Linked DNA regions of Homo sapiens: region 2 is linked to region 1. Evidence: promoter capture Hi-C in human tissues and cell types (Jung and others, 2019). All regions are on one chromosome and are shown on one strand. Each heading gives the region's core, a stretch centred on a gene start or on the middle of the fragment in contact. The rest is flanking DNA. Distances are from core to core; before and after follow the strand shown.

Region 1 (5,935 bases), core at 2,457-4,956:
CCCGGCTAATTTTTTGTATTTTTAGTAGAGACAGGGTTTCACCACGTTGGCCAGGCTGGTCTCAAATCCCTGGCCTCAAGCGATCCTCTGCCTTGACTTCCCAAAGTGCTGGGATTACAGGCAGGAGCCACCTTGCCTGGTCTACACTGTTGTTGCTGTTGTTTTGTGAATGGGAAGCAAGATACTTCTTATATGGCAGAGTGAGAGGGAGTGAGAGAGTGGGAGACAGGGAGGGGGAAGGGGAGAGGTGGAAAGAGGAGGGAGGAGGGAGGAGGTGGGGAGAGGGGTAGTCTGGCCTACTACATTTTTAGCATCCCAAAAAGAAACCCCACACATTAGCAGTCAATCCCTACTTCTCCCTAGTCCTCAGTTCTAGGCAACCATTAATCTACTTTCCATCTCTATCAATTTGCCTATTCTGGACATTTCATATAAACGGAATCATCCATTATTTGTCCTGTTGGGTCTGACTTCTTTCATTTAGCATAATGTTTTCAAGATTCATCCATGTTGTATCGTGCATCAGTACTTCATTCCTTTTGATGGCTGAATAACAGTCTATGTATGGCTGTATCACATTTTGTTTATCCATCCACCAACTGATGAATATTTGAGTTGTTTCCACTTTTTGGCTATTGTGAATAGTGCTGCTATGAATATTTGAGTACAAGTTTTTATGTGGACATATGTTTTCATTTCTTGTTTATGTACCTAAGAGCGGAATTGCTGGGTCATATGGCAACTCTGTGTTTAACATTTCGAGGAACTGCCAAGCTATTTTTCAAAGTGGCTGCATCATTGTACATTCTCACCAGCAATGTATGAAGGTTTCAATTTCTCCATACTCTCTTCAACACTTATTGTCTGTTTTTTTATTATAAACATCCTAGTGGGTGTGAAGTGGCATCTCATCATGGTTTAGATAGCATGACTCCTGAACAGCTGGTTTGACTGCCAAGTTTATTAATTAGCTAGAAATGAGAAACACAGGGCCCAGCATCATGATACTCCAATTTTGAAAATATAACATGTAATAGGCTGGGCACAATGGCTTACACCTGTAATCCCAGCAATTTGGGAGGCCAAGGTGGGAGAATCACTTGAGCCCTAGAGCCTGAGACCAGCCTGGGCAACATAGCAAGACCTCCTCTCTACTAAAACTTTTAAAATTAACTAGATGTGGTGACATGCACTGTAGTCCCACCTACTTGGGAGGCTAAAGGTGGAGGATCACTTGAGACCAGGAATTCAAAGCTGCAGTGAGTTGTGATCCCACCACTGAACTCCAGCCCGGGCAACAGAGTGATGCTCTGTCTCCAAAAAAAAAAAAAAATTAAAAAAAGTTGTAGTAAAACTGTTTTCAATCTTTTTTGTTGCCAGTATTTTCTAGATGGCATTATACAGGTGGCAATTTGTCATGAAAATTCATATAGCATTGGAGATTTGCTAAATTATGCATAAAATTCCAATTTTGATATTTTTCCTATTCAAAACTTATCCCTGAATGGGGAGACCAGGAAAGGCTAGCTCCTGAATCAGAGACAAAGTGAGTAAATAAAGTAGCATTCCCCACAGGGCCCTTCCTCTGCCCTCATTGGAACACATTACAACTTAGAAACACAAGACACCTATTCTATGATGGCAATGTGAACTATTATTCCTGTCTAGAGACCTGCCCATCTCCTCCACGACTGGCCTGTCTTCAAAAAAGCATTTGATAATACATTTGGGGGCGGCGGGGTTGGGGGAGGCTCAGAAAAATGCAACCGCTAAAATTTCTCTGGATGGAGTTTTCTTCAGTAAACAGTAGACCCTGGGAAACATAACAGGTTCCGAAAACTTAATTTTGATGACTGAAAGTCAGAGAAACAGCCAGCTGAATCAGCTCCTTCTTGGGCAGTGGTTTAGCCTACTTATCTCATATCAGACCTAAGGGTCCAGCTGCTTTTCCTTGGTTCTAAAGAGTTCTATTCTGGCCAGGACCCATCCCGAGACAGACACTTCTGTCTGCAGCCCTGAAAACTAGAGGTCAATGGAAGGGCTCAAATTAAAGGCCCACAGTTGGGCTTACAACTCTCCATGGTGTTCAAGCCTTCTCAGAGGAGCTGGTGTGGTGGAGCCAGGGTCAAAGGTCATAGTAAATAGAAAGTAGCCAGCTTTCTGCCTGCATAACATCATCTTGCCTAACCAGACTCAAACGCTTAATTCTACTGTAGTATTCTTTGGACATTCTTCTTTAGAACTACGGGGGCGGGGGGGGGGGGGCGTGTTTATTTTCAACAACCACAATCATCCTTATCTTTCTGAAGATGTTTCCAAAGGCTGAGAACAGACCCCTTTCAGAACCTCGGTAGGAGAAGTATTAACAGTTGGAAACATGTCAGCTGCTTTATGGAGGAAGCACAGCCCAGGCCTGGTTTCTCTGGGCTCCGTGATAACTTGGGGCAAGGCAGCCAGTGCGAAGCGTGGTGGCAGGAGCTGGAGAGATGGAGAGCGGCTCGGAGAAGGGCCCCTGCTTTTCAGAGTTGAAACAGGAGCCCTCTGAGAGAAAGAGATACTGCGTGTGGCTTCTCTGAAGCCTTGGAGGGCGACGTGGATGACACAGCATCAGCCATTCCATCGCGGGGTGGGGACACAGTGGCGGCAGGAACCGTCCTCAGCCCCTGGCGGCCACGGCAGTTCCCCGCTGAAGCATCCTTTGTGGGGTGTGGGTAAGGGAGGGGGACCAAAGTCGGGTCGGAGTTGAGTTTGTTAGACGGCGAGCACACTCAGGGCGGCAGCCCGAGTAAGAAGGATGGCCCCGGGAGAGAAACGGCTCGAAGCTAGGGGCGGGGTGAAGCGCCTGCTCCTTAATCTCCTGCCCCATCATCCACTCGCCCCACCTGGATGCAGAGCGAGGACCGCGTGGAAAGGAAACGGCGCGGGCGGGGCTCCCCCTCGCAGATGCCTCGGAGACCCAGAGGGGCGGCGTCAGGCCAGGGCCCCGAGCCCTACGCCCCCCATCCCCCCAACTCCAGCGCCTCTGAGGTGCCCCTCTCGCAATTCCGAGGCATCACCGTGTCTCCCCCGCCTCCGTTAAAATAGTGAAACTGCGGAGTGAAGTGATGGAAAGCCGGGGGCGGGGAGTCGCCCGCGGCGAGGGGCTGCAGGGGAGGGGGCGCGGTGGCCGAATAAGGTGGCCCGCGAGCAACGGGACGATTGGGATCGCAGCCAGTCGCGGCCTCCCGGACCCTTCCCCTCGGGCAGCCCGGCCCTCCCATGGCCCGGGGCGCCTTGGGAGGGCGTAGGGCAAACCTGGGGCTGCGGTGGGGGGTGGGGAGGGGACTCCACCTCCATCCATCCCGGGATGGCAACTGCGGTCACCCTGCTAAAGTCGGGGCGGGGGCGGCGGTCCTCCCCCTCACCCCCCCCAGTCCGAGCGCCGCCGCCGCCGCCGCCGCCGCCGCCGCGGCCGCTCAGTAACACGTCCCCAGGAGACTCGCAGGAGCAACACGTGATGTGTCTACTTATCAGGGTGAGAGGGGGAGAGCGAGACTCCGAGCGTGCGGGCGAGGAAGCTGGGCGGGGGGCCGAGACGGGGGCCGGGACGACGGCTGGGGCGCCGGGGTCGCCAGCTCCTCGCCCACCTCCCTCCCTGTGGGAGAAGAGGAGGAGGGGAAGTGACTGCGGAGTTGATGAACTTTGCACATCCAGAAACGCCATTTTGATTCCTTTTCCGGAACAAGTTTGCATCTCTCCTCGGTCTCTCCCTGAAGCCCACCGGTCCCCAACGCATCATGCCAGGGAGCCAAGCGTCCTGCCCGGCCGTAAGTACGTGCCCCGGATTCCGACTCGCGGTACGCCGGCGGCAGCGAGAAGTCTGGGGCACAGCCGGAGCGACCTTTTAAAGAACTTTGGGGATGGGGAGGGTGAAGTCTGCAGAGCGCGTTGTACTTTTGAAACTCGGTGTGTCCCGGAGCCGGGGACCCGCACGCCCCACTCCGCGCAGCGTGCGCTCGGGCCGGCGGGGCGGCCAGGGATGAGCGGGGCAGCCCTCTCCCCTCGGGCTGCGCGCCGGGCCATTCCTCCTCCTCCTCCTCCTCCTCCCCTTCCTCCGCTCTTTTCCCTTTCCCGAGCCGCCGGCTCTGCCAACCAGCTCCCAGCGCGAGCCGCCGCAGCGCCCCGCCAGCAGGACCTGATGCGCATCCATATTAGCCGTCCGAGCGCAGGAATCCGGCCCGACCCGCGCCGCCGAGTTTATTTTTAACCAGCACCGCCGGGACTCGGATGGTGCGCGCACCGCCGGCCAGAAACATCTTCCCAGCGCTGCTCTCCATCTTCCGCCCTCTCTCCCTCGACATCCTCCCCCCCATGTGGGAGGGGAAACTTTTCTCCTACATACTTTCGAGTCCTTCTCGGGCCGGGAAGCGCGGAGATGACGGCGCCCGCCCTCCCGCCGCCGCCCTAAGGTATCCGGGGGTGCCTGCCCGGGGTGCTCGCGCGGGGGTGCCTGCTCGGGGCTGCTCGGTGGGAGCATCCGCCGCGCCCTGCTCTGCGGACTTTGAACCTCCCGGGCGGACGGCGCCGGCCGGGAGGGGGCCGCGGGCAGCCCCGCGCCCTCGCGGGTTCCCGGCTGGCGGTCGTGGTCACGCCGACCACCGCCCCGGGGGGCCTGGGGAGGAGGGGACCGGGCCCTAGCCGTGCGGGCACGTATTGTTCCCTCGCCCTTCCGTTGGCGGGGTGAGTGTTTTCGTGGGAGCCCTCGGTGTGGAGCTAGCCTGCCTCGCGGGCGGGGGGGGTGGGGGGCTCGGCGCCGTCACGAGCACAGGAAGGAGGCCGGGAGCATCCGAGGCGGGGCCGGCCGCCGGGGCCCGCTCCGCCGCCCAGCTGTGGAGCGCGCTCGGAAACTTTTGTCCGCCGCCCGCTGGACCAGTTTTTCACGAGTTCTGGGGCTTCCCTTCCTCCTCCCATCCCGGCCCCCGGCGTCTAGCTGGGTGGGGGGAGGGGGCCTGTTGCTGCCCCCCCCGCCCCCAACTTCCCGCACAAGCCTTGGGCCGGGCCCCCCGCGCCCCCTCCCCGCTCGCGGTCTCTTAGGAAACTGCGACCTTAATGGTTGCTAAGGAGCAGGGGAGGTCCTTCCCGTCGCCGACCCCCTCCCTGGGAAGCGGCGTGTTTTCTGGACCGGGCCAAGGGCGCGTCGAGGATGTGACCTGCTCCGCGGCCGCGCGTGAGTGCGGGGCGCGTCGGCCGAGCCCACCGATGGGCGAGGCCACCTTTCTCTCCGGGCGGGGCGGGGAGCTGGGGGACGCGGGGACCCCACGGGGTGCGGGCCCGGGCCGCTTGACAGGCGCCGCGTGCAGCTCGCGCCCCTCGGCCGCCGTGCATCCGTGATGGGTTATAAAAGAGGAGGAAAGTATTTCTCCTTGCTCAGCAGATTTGCCCTCCCTCGCTCCTTACTGGTTAGGAGATAGAACGTGAGCCCAGATCCGGACGAGCAGTTCACATTCCATTACGAAATTCTACACGGCTTCAGAGCCAGCAGCAGCACACATTCGGGGCACTTTGGAGGGGTTTTCTTCGTTTGAGGATGCTCCTGCTGCTGCTGCTTGTGATGGTGGTGGATGTGGAGAGAGACAAAAGGGTGAATAAAAAAATATAACGTTTTGGTATGTTGAAAAACCTGTCCGGGGGTTTTCATTAGTAGAAAATTGAACCCTCTTAGAGTTTAGATTTAAGCTTAGCTCTTTAAAAGCCAGTGGAAATAAAGTTTGCCTGTTGAATGGTGTTGCTGGAAATAGCGAGGAATTTCTGTCTTAAGAAGAAATGATTTCTGCAAAGGCAGAGTTGCTAGTGCATCTCCATTATTTTTGATATTTTTTTTCCCCTTTATATATGTAGTGGACCCTGCATGTGTGCGAGTTGATTCTGAAATAAGTTTAATTGAAGTGGAAGGTGG
Region 2 (5,935 bases), core at 916-3,415, 270 kb before region 1:
TGCAGTGGCGTGATCTCGGCTCACTGCAACGTCTGCCTCCTGGGTTCAAGCAATTCTTCTTCCTCATCCTTCTGAGTAGATGGGATTACAAGCGCATGCCACCACGCCCGGCTAATTTTTATATTTTTTAGTAGAGACGGGGTTTCACCATGTTGGCCAGGCTGGTCTCAAACTCCTGACCTTGTGATCTGCCCACCTCGGCCTCCCAAAGTGCTGGGATTACAGGCGTGAGCCACGGCTCCCTGCCAGCTCTTAGATTTTTTAGTTTACAGTGGAGATTCAAAAAACATTAGCTGTTATGATTATCACATGAAATAATTTTGTCCTTCTACAAACTGGAAGTACCTGGTGGCTAAGAAACCAGTTAGAGGACTGTTTCTCTTATCCAAACAAAAGAGGATTGTGGCCAAAACCAAGGAAGTGGCAGCGGGGTTGGACAGAAGGAGAAGGATCTGAGAAACATTTGAGATATTGAGTCAGTAGACTTTTAAACTGTTATAATATCAAGAGAAGGAAAAAAGCAGTCAAGTGTGACTTCGAAGTTTCTAGTGCATGTGATTAAGGAGTATTAGCTGAGAAAAGGAAATAAGGAAAGGTCTAAATCTGGTGGAAAAGAAAAACTTATTGAATGCTTACTATGTGCCAGGAAATATTCTAATCGTTTTCCATCCATGAAGTCATTTAATCGGCGTAACAACCTTGTGAGATAGATGCTATCCCCGTTTTATAGATGACAAAACTAAGCCATAAAAGGTCTGTAACTTTTCCAAGGCTATACAGCTGGGCTTCTAACCCAAGGTATCCAACCCAGAGTCCATGACCTCCACTGCCCCACACGTAGACTTTCTTAGAGATAATGAGTTCAGTTTAGTTTGAGGGACATGGAAGAGGCTATGTGGAGGAGTGGGTTGAATGTAACAGTCTGAAACTCGTAAGAGACGTGGAGATAGCAACCAAGCTTGAGATGCCAGATTCACCAGCATAGAGGTGGGATTGCAGCCACAGAAGGGCACATGGGAAGGAAGAGAGATCGTGTGCACGGGAAGAGGCCTGGGAGATATCCCTGGGGACATGGATGCTCCCGACCTGCCCACAAGGGTGTCAGTGTTAGCTGCTTTTCATTGTGGATGTTTGCCTATCATAATAGCTTTATGCAAGGGGGTCTTGGGCTGCTCCGCATCTGAACCCCTTTGCCATATTGGGGAATCTGCCTCGGTCTTGGTGGGACACACACCTTCCACTACAGTAGTCAGAGAGCCAGACATTTGCTGTTCCTCAGCCCTGGAGGCCAAGCCTGAACAAACAACATGTGTCTGGCCAATCTAACAGGACACTGAGTCCTCAGCAAGTGACACAGAAGCAAAGAATGGTGCCACATGCGTTCCACCTACAGCAATGCCTGCACTGTCTTGGGGTGGCAGGGGGGCCCCCTAACCTGAGGCACAACCTTGGCTCCGAATTCCCTTGGCTTCCCCTCTTTTTCTTGCAGTTGTTCTCTAGTCTTTCTATCTGTTCTGTGAACTTCTTGGCTTAGTCCCCTAAATGTCTTTCTCTAGAGCAGTTTCTCTTGTTTAACTTGCTCTCTCACTGGTCCAGTACCAATGCTTAGATAATTGGTACTGGATAATTCCTTAGATAATTCTGTTTTCCTTGCGCTCCTTTCTCTCCATTGTAATAGATTGTGGAAGTGGTTCTATATTTTCACCTAAAAACGTTCCTAAGAAACAGTCACCTCTGAGATTTAATTGTAGGACAAAATACATCCATGAAGAATGATTACCCTTAATCAGAACAGTTATCCAAATGTACAAATGGAATAAGTATGAGTTCTTCCACCACACGTGGAGTGTAACAAATGTCTTACCAAATGTACAAATGGAATAAGTATGAGTTCTTCCACCACACCTGGAGTGTAACAAATGTCTTATTGCACTTTCTTAATTAAATTCAATCCCAGCACCACTTGCCAAGGTTGGTTACAATGGCTAATATCAGGCCGGGCGTGGTGGCTCACGCCTGTAATCCCAGCACTTTGGGAGGCCAAGGTGGGTGGATCGCTTGAGGTCAGGAGTTCGAGACGAACCTAACCAACATGGTGAAACCTCATCTCTACTAAAAATACAAAAATTAGCCAGGCATGGTGGCGGGCACCTGTAGTCCCGCTACTCAGGAGGCTGAGGCAGGAGAATCGCTTGAATCCAGGAGGCAGAGTTTGCAGTGAGCCGTGATCGTCCCACTGCACTCCAGCCTGGGTGACAGAGTGAGACCCTGTCTCAAAAAAAAAAAAAAAAGGCAATATTCATGATCTACCATCCTGGAACATGTAGGACTCCCAGGGCTTACTCACATCAGAGAAATGGGGAAGGGTTCTGAATGGCCTTCAGCTCTGAATGGTCACTATTTCTTTGCTGCCCATAGCCACTGCCAAGAGCAAGTTCTCCCTTCTGGCGTGCCCTGCCACCCTGGCAGCCCCTCACAACTGTCCTCCCATCAACCACAGTTTCAGCCATGTAGCCTTGCCAGCGTCCCCAAGGCCGCAGGACCCAGTGGCCAACCTCACTGTCCTATCCACGCCAGGTCCTTGGAAGTGCTGGCCAAGGGGTGCCCTCATCCAGCAACCTGTGGGTCCTGGAGGTCCTCGTGCACAGATGGCATCTCCAGCCTCCTGACCCTCAGGATGGCCTTCCACACACACAGCCAACACCTGTGTGAGGAATCCAGCTTCTTGCCCCTTCAGGTCCCAAGATAGCAGAGAACACAAGAACCCCTCAAAAGAAAGCCCCTAGCTTTTCCTTATGGAGAAAGTGGAAATTACCTCTTTCTTGTGCCAACGTGCCTCCTAGGGAAGCAGATGAACAAATATACAATAAAAATCTCAGTTCCAGAGCCAATGTATTTCAGAACAGCCCTAAAAACGCAATTTATTTTTAATAAGAATTACTTTTGAAGCAAAAGTTATGTTGATAGATGTTCTGTCTGCAAGTAAAAGAAGTCATCCTAGTGTAAGCCAAAACTGGGCACTTTTTTTGGTCAATGCAGAAATAGAGCCAGACCTCTGAAAAGATTGGAACCCCAACCTGGAAGGCTGCCAAAACCTCCGCGTACTTTTGCCTTGCCTATGCTTTGCTCTGCACACCTGCTTTATTTTGCTCTCTGCAGACCACTTGAGCTCCCCAGAGTATTGCGGAAGAACGTGCTCATAGCTCCAACGCACATACTCCCACTCCCCACCTCCACCTCCCTCCGGAAAGATTCATTCTGTCCATTTCTCTTTCCCCTTTTCTTTTCTTTCTTCTCTCTCTCTCTCTCTCTCACACACACACACACATTTCTCTCTCTTCTCTCTTTTTGCCTCCTCTCTCTCCTATCACTTTCTCTCTCTCGCCCATCTCTTTCTTTCTCTCTCTCCCCTCCCCGCCCCCCACCATCCCTGCTAATTTCCAAGTTCCGAGAAGGGACTCTCATTGGTCCAGGTGGACTCAGCTCTCTCTCTCTCTGGCCCAATCAACTGGCAGAAGGACAGGCTCATGTTACCCAAGCATGGCTGTCAGGAGCCCAGCCTCATCACTTGACAGGCTGCTGAGAGGGAGGGCAAAGATAAGGACGGCATCTTGTTTGGATCTCCCTAAAAGCCGACCCTGAAGCAAGAACTCAAGTGCAAGTGGGGCATTTGGGAGGTGCCAGCAATACCAGCTGGGAAATGAGGAGGTGATGCAGGAAGAGGACGAAAGGCAATAAGGGCTTCTTATTAAAGTAGCTGCCCCTGTGCATGACTCTGGGAGGGAACTCTGGGAAATGGTCCAAGCCTCAAAGTGATTCCACCTGAGAGTCAACGGAGCCAGAGTTGACGTCAGCTCCTGAGAGTCCTCGGTGGAGGACGGCTCCTAAGTGGTGATCACCCTATGGCACTTCCCACCTGTGTTGTGTGTGAGAGCAGAGTGGCTCTCCCCACTCTATCTGTATCTATAGTGTAAAGCCAATTATGTACATTTTAAACAAACACATACCGAAGACACTATGTGTTTTATATACATACATATACATAAATACACATGTTATATATACATATTATATATACATACATATATAGAATTCAAGGACTTAAATCAAGCACATTTAAAGTGGTTGCCTGTGAGGAGGAGGGAACTGAAATTTAGGGATCAAATAAGGAAAAAATATAAAATAAAACAAGACAAGGCTTTGCCCAGACCCCAAAGGGCAGGGCGCCATGAGCTGAGGAGTAGACTTCACTCAATTCTCTGCCATCTATCTGAGTTTTTCAATAAATGTTTTTAAAGCCAAAGTTGATTCATTCCTACAGTGGCATTTTGAAGGGACTATTTTTCCTTTGACCTAGATTGCCCAAACCTTCCTGAGTTTCTGTCCCTCCCAAGGCCTGGTTTTCCCCATTTCCTCCAATTCTGGGAGCCCTCCCATATCTTTCCAATAAATACCTTTTTCCCCATAATTTAGCAGAATCGGCTTCTGTTGCTTGCCACCAAATAACCCAATAAGGCCTCAATGCATGGGGCTCTGGAGGACCATCAACAATCTTCTCAGGGAAAAGACTTCCAGGTAGAGAGATCAAGAGGTCATTTATTTCCACATCCAGTGTCTAAGCTGCTCTGTCTCCAGGGCTTGTGGCTACTGTTTGGGAAGGGCAAGGTCATGCTTCAGAGTGGAGTCCCCAGCACCTTGCATGGGGCCTGGCCTACAGTATGAGGTCAATAAATGCCTTTTGAATGGATAACTTCATGAATGAAAGAGCAAGTAAGTGAGTTTACAAAAACTGCTGTTGTTCAGTTGCTTTTTAATAGAATCCTACCTCCACCCGGCCAGATGTATTTATCTTAGTAACCATGGTATAACAGGCAAAGGACAGCAGGTGTTCTGTGAATTATCTTGGTTGGACAAAATCGCTATGGGTTAGCCCCAGAACCAGTGTCATTGGTGGATGTCCTGTGCAAATGTGCTGTGCCTTTGCTATTTTAAAACCCTTCATAATTTTTTTAACAAGGGGTCTCACATTTTTATTTTGCTCTGGACCCTGCAAATTATGTAGCTGGCCCTGGTTAGCGCCAGACTAAATCAAGCAGCATACACCTACAGGAAACCCAAAGAAACTAAAATACCACTGTTGAACTCCAGTACTGCCTGGCATTCACAATGATAACTTTTAGTAGCAAAGGAATTTCTATTCCAAAAACTGTTCTCTTAGGATCATGGCCTTTCCTTCTTATTTCTGCAGAGCAGGGAAGGGCAATTCCACAAAATCCTCTCCTAAAAACAGATAACCAACCATGTAGAAACCAAATATATGGAAATTTCGGGCACAGACAGAATACATAAAGATAATTATAAGTGGTCTTGCTATGCAGTATAGCTTGGAACAGTACTTGGGTTTCTACAGACATTTTCCATTCCATTTTCTGGAAGAGGGGTAATGTTTTGGGAAGAATATGAATTTGGGACTTAAGCAGAGCTCAACATGAATATTCTTTTTTCATTTAGTTGTATAAACTTGGGAGAGCTATTTAAGTTCTTGGAACCTTAAGTTTTATCTTTAAAGTAAGAATAATCATAAGATTGTTAGGAGAAATAAATTGAGATTAGAATAAAAGGGAAGGAAGGAAGGAAAGAAAGAAGGAAGGAAGGAAGGAAGGAAAGAAAGAAGGAAGGAAGGAAGGAAGGAAGGAAGGAAGGAAGGAAGGGAGGGAGGGAGGGAGGGAGAGGGGAGGGAGGGAGGGGAGAGACAGGAGAGGAGGGGAGAAAAAGGAGAGGGTGGGGTAGGAGGGAGAGGGGAGGAGAGGGGAGAAGGAAAGGAAAGGAGAGGGCAGGAAGGAAGAAGGAGGAAGGGAGATGTCAGCACCTGCTATGGTCTCTGAAATGTCCTCAGTGTTCAGCAAATGGGAACTTCCTTCCTTATTCCTTCTTA

What was found. The method cuts DNA at HindIII sites, captures the fragments that hold promoters and counts their contacts. A contact is called where the count stands out against the background at its distance.
Region 2: a contact is called between a fragment that was not itself captured here and the fragment with the promoter of RREB1 in region 1, in 1 of the 25 tissues and cell types used here (mesenchymal stem cells).

The regions. Positions count from the first base shown.
Region 1 is chr6:7,104,255-7,110,189 of GRCh38, forward strand. RREB1 (ras responsive element binding protein 1) reads left to right here and starts at 3,707. Exons shown (of 13, transcript NM_001003699.4): 1 at 3,707-3,806. RefSeq lists an enhancer at 2,516-2,575 and silencers at 2,926-3,405, 3,466-3,685, 4,476-4,965, 4,986-5,075. The HindIII fragment of the contact is 13,967 bases long and covers 1-5,935 here.
Region 2 is chr6:6,831,340-6,837,274 of GRCh38, forward strand. No RefSeq gene overlaps it. Among named protein-coding and RNA genes, the nearest start is that of LINC03055, 51 kb to the right of the region's middle. The HindIII fragment of the contact is 5,235 bases long and covers 1-4,783 here.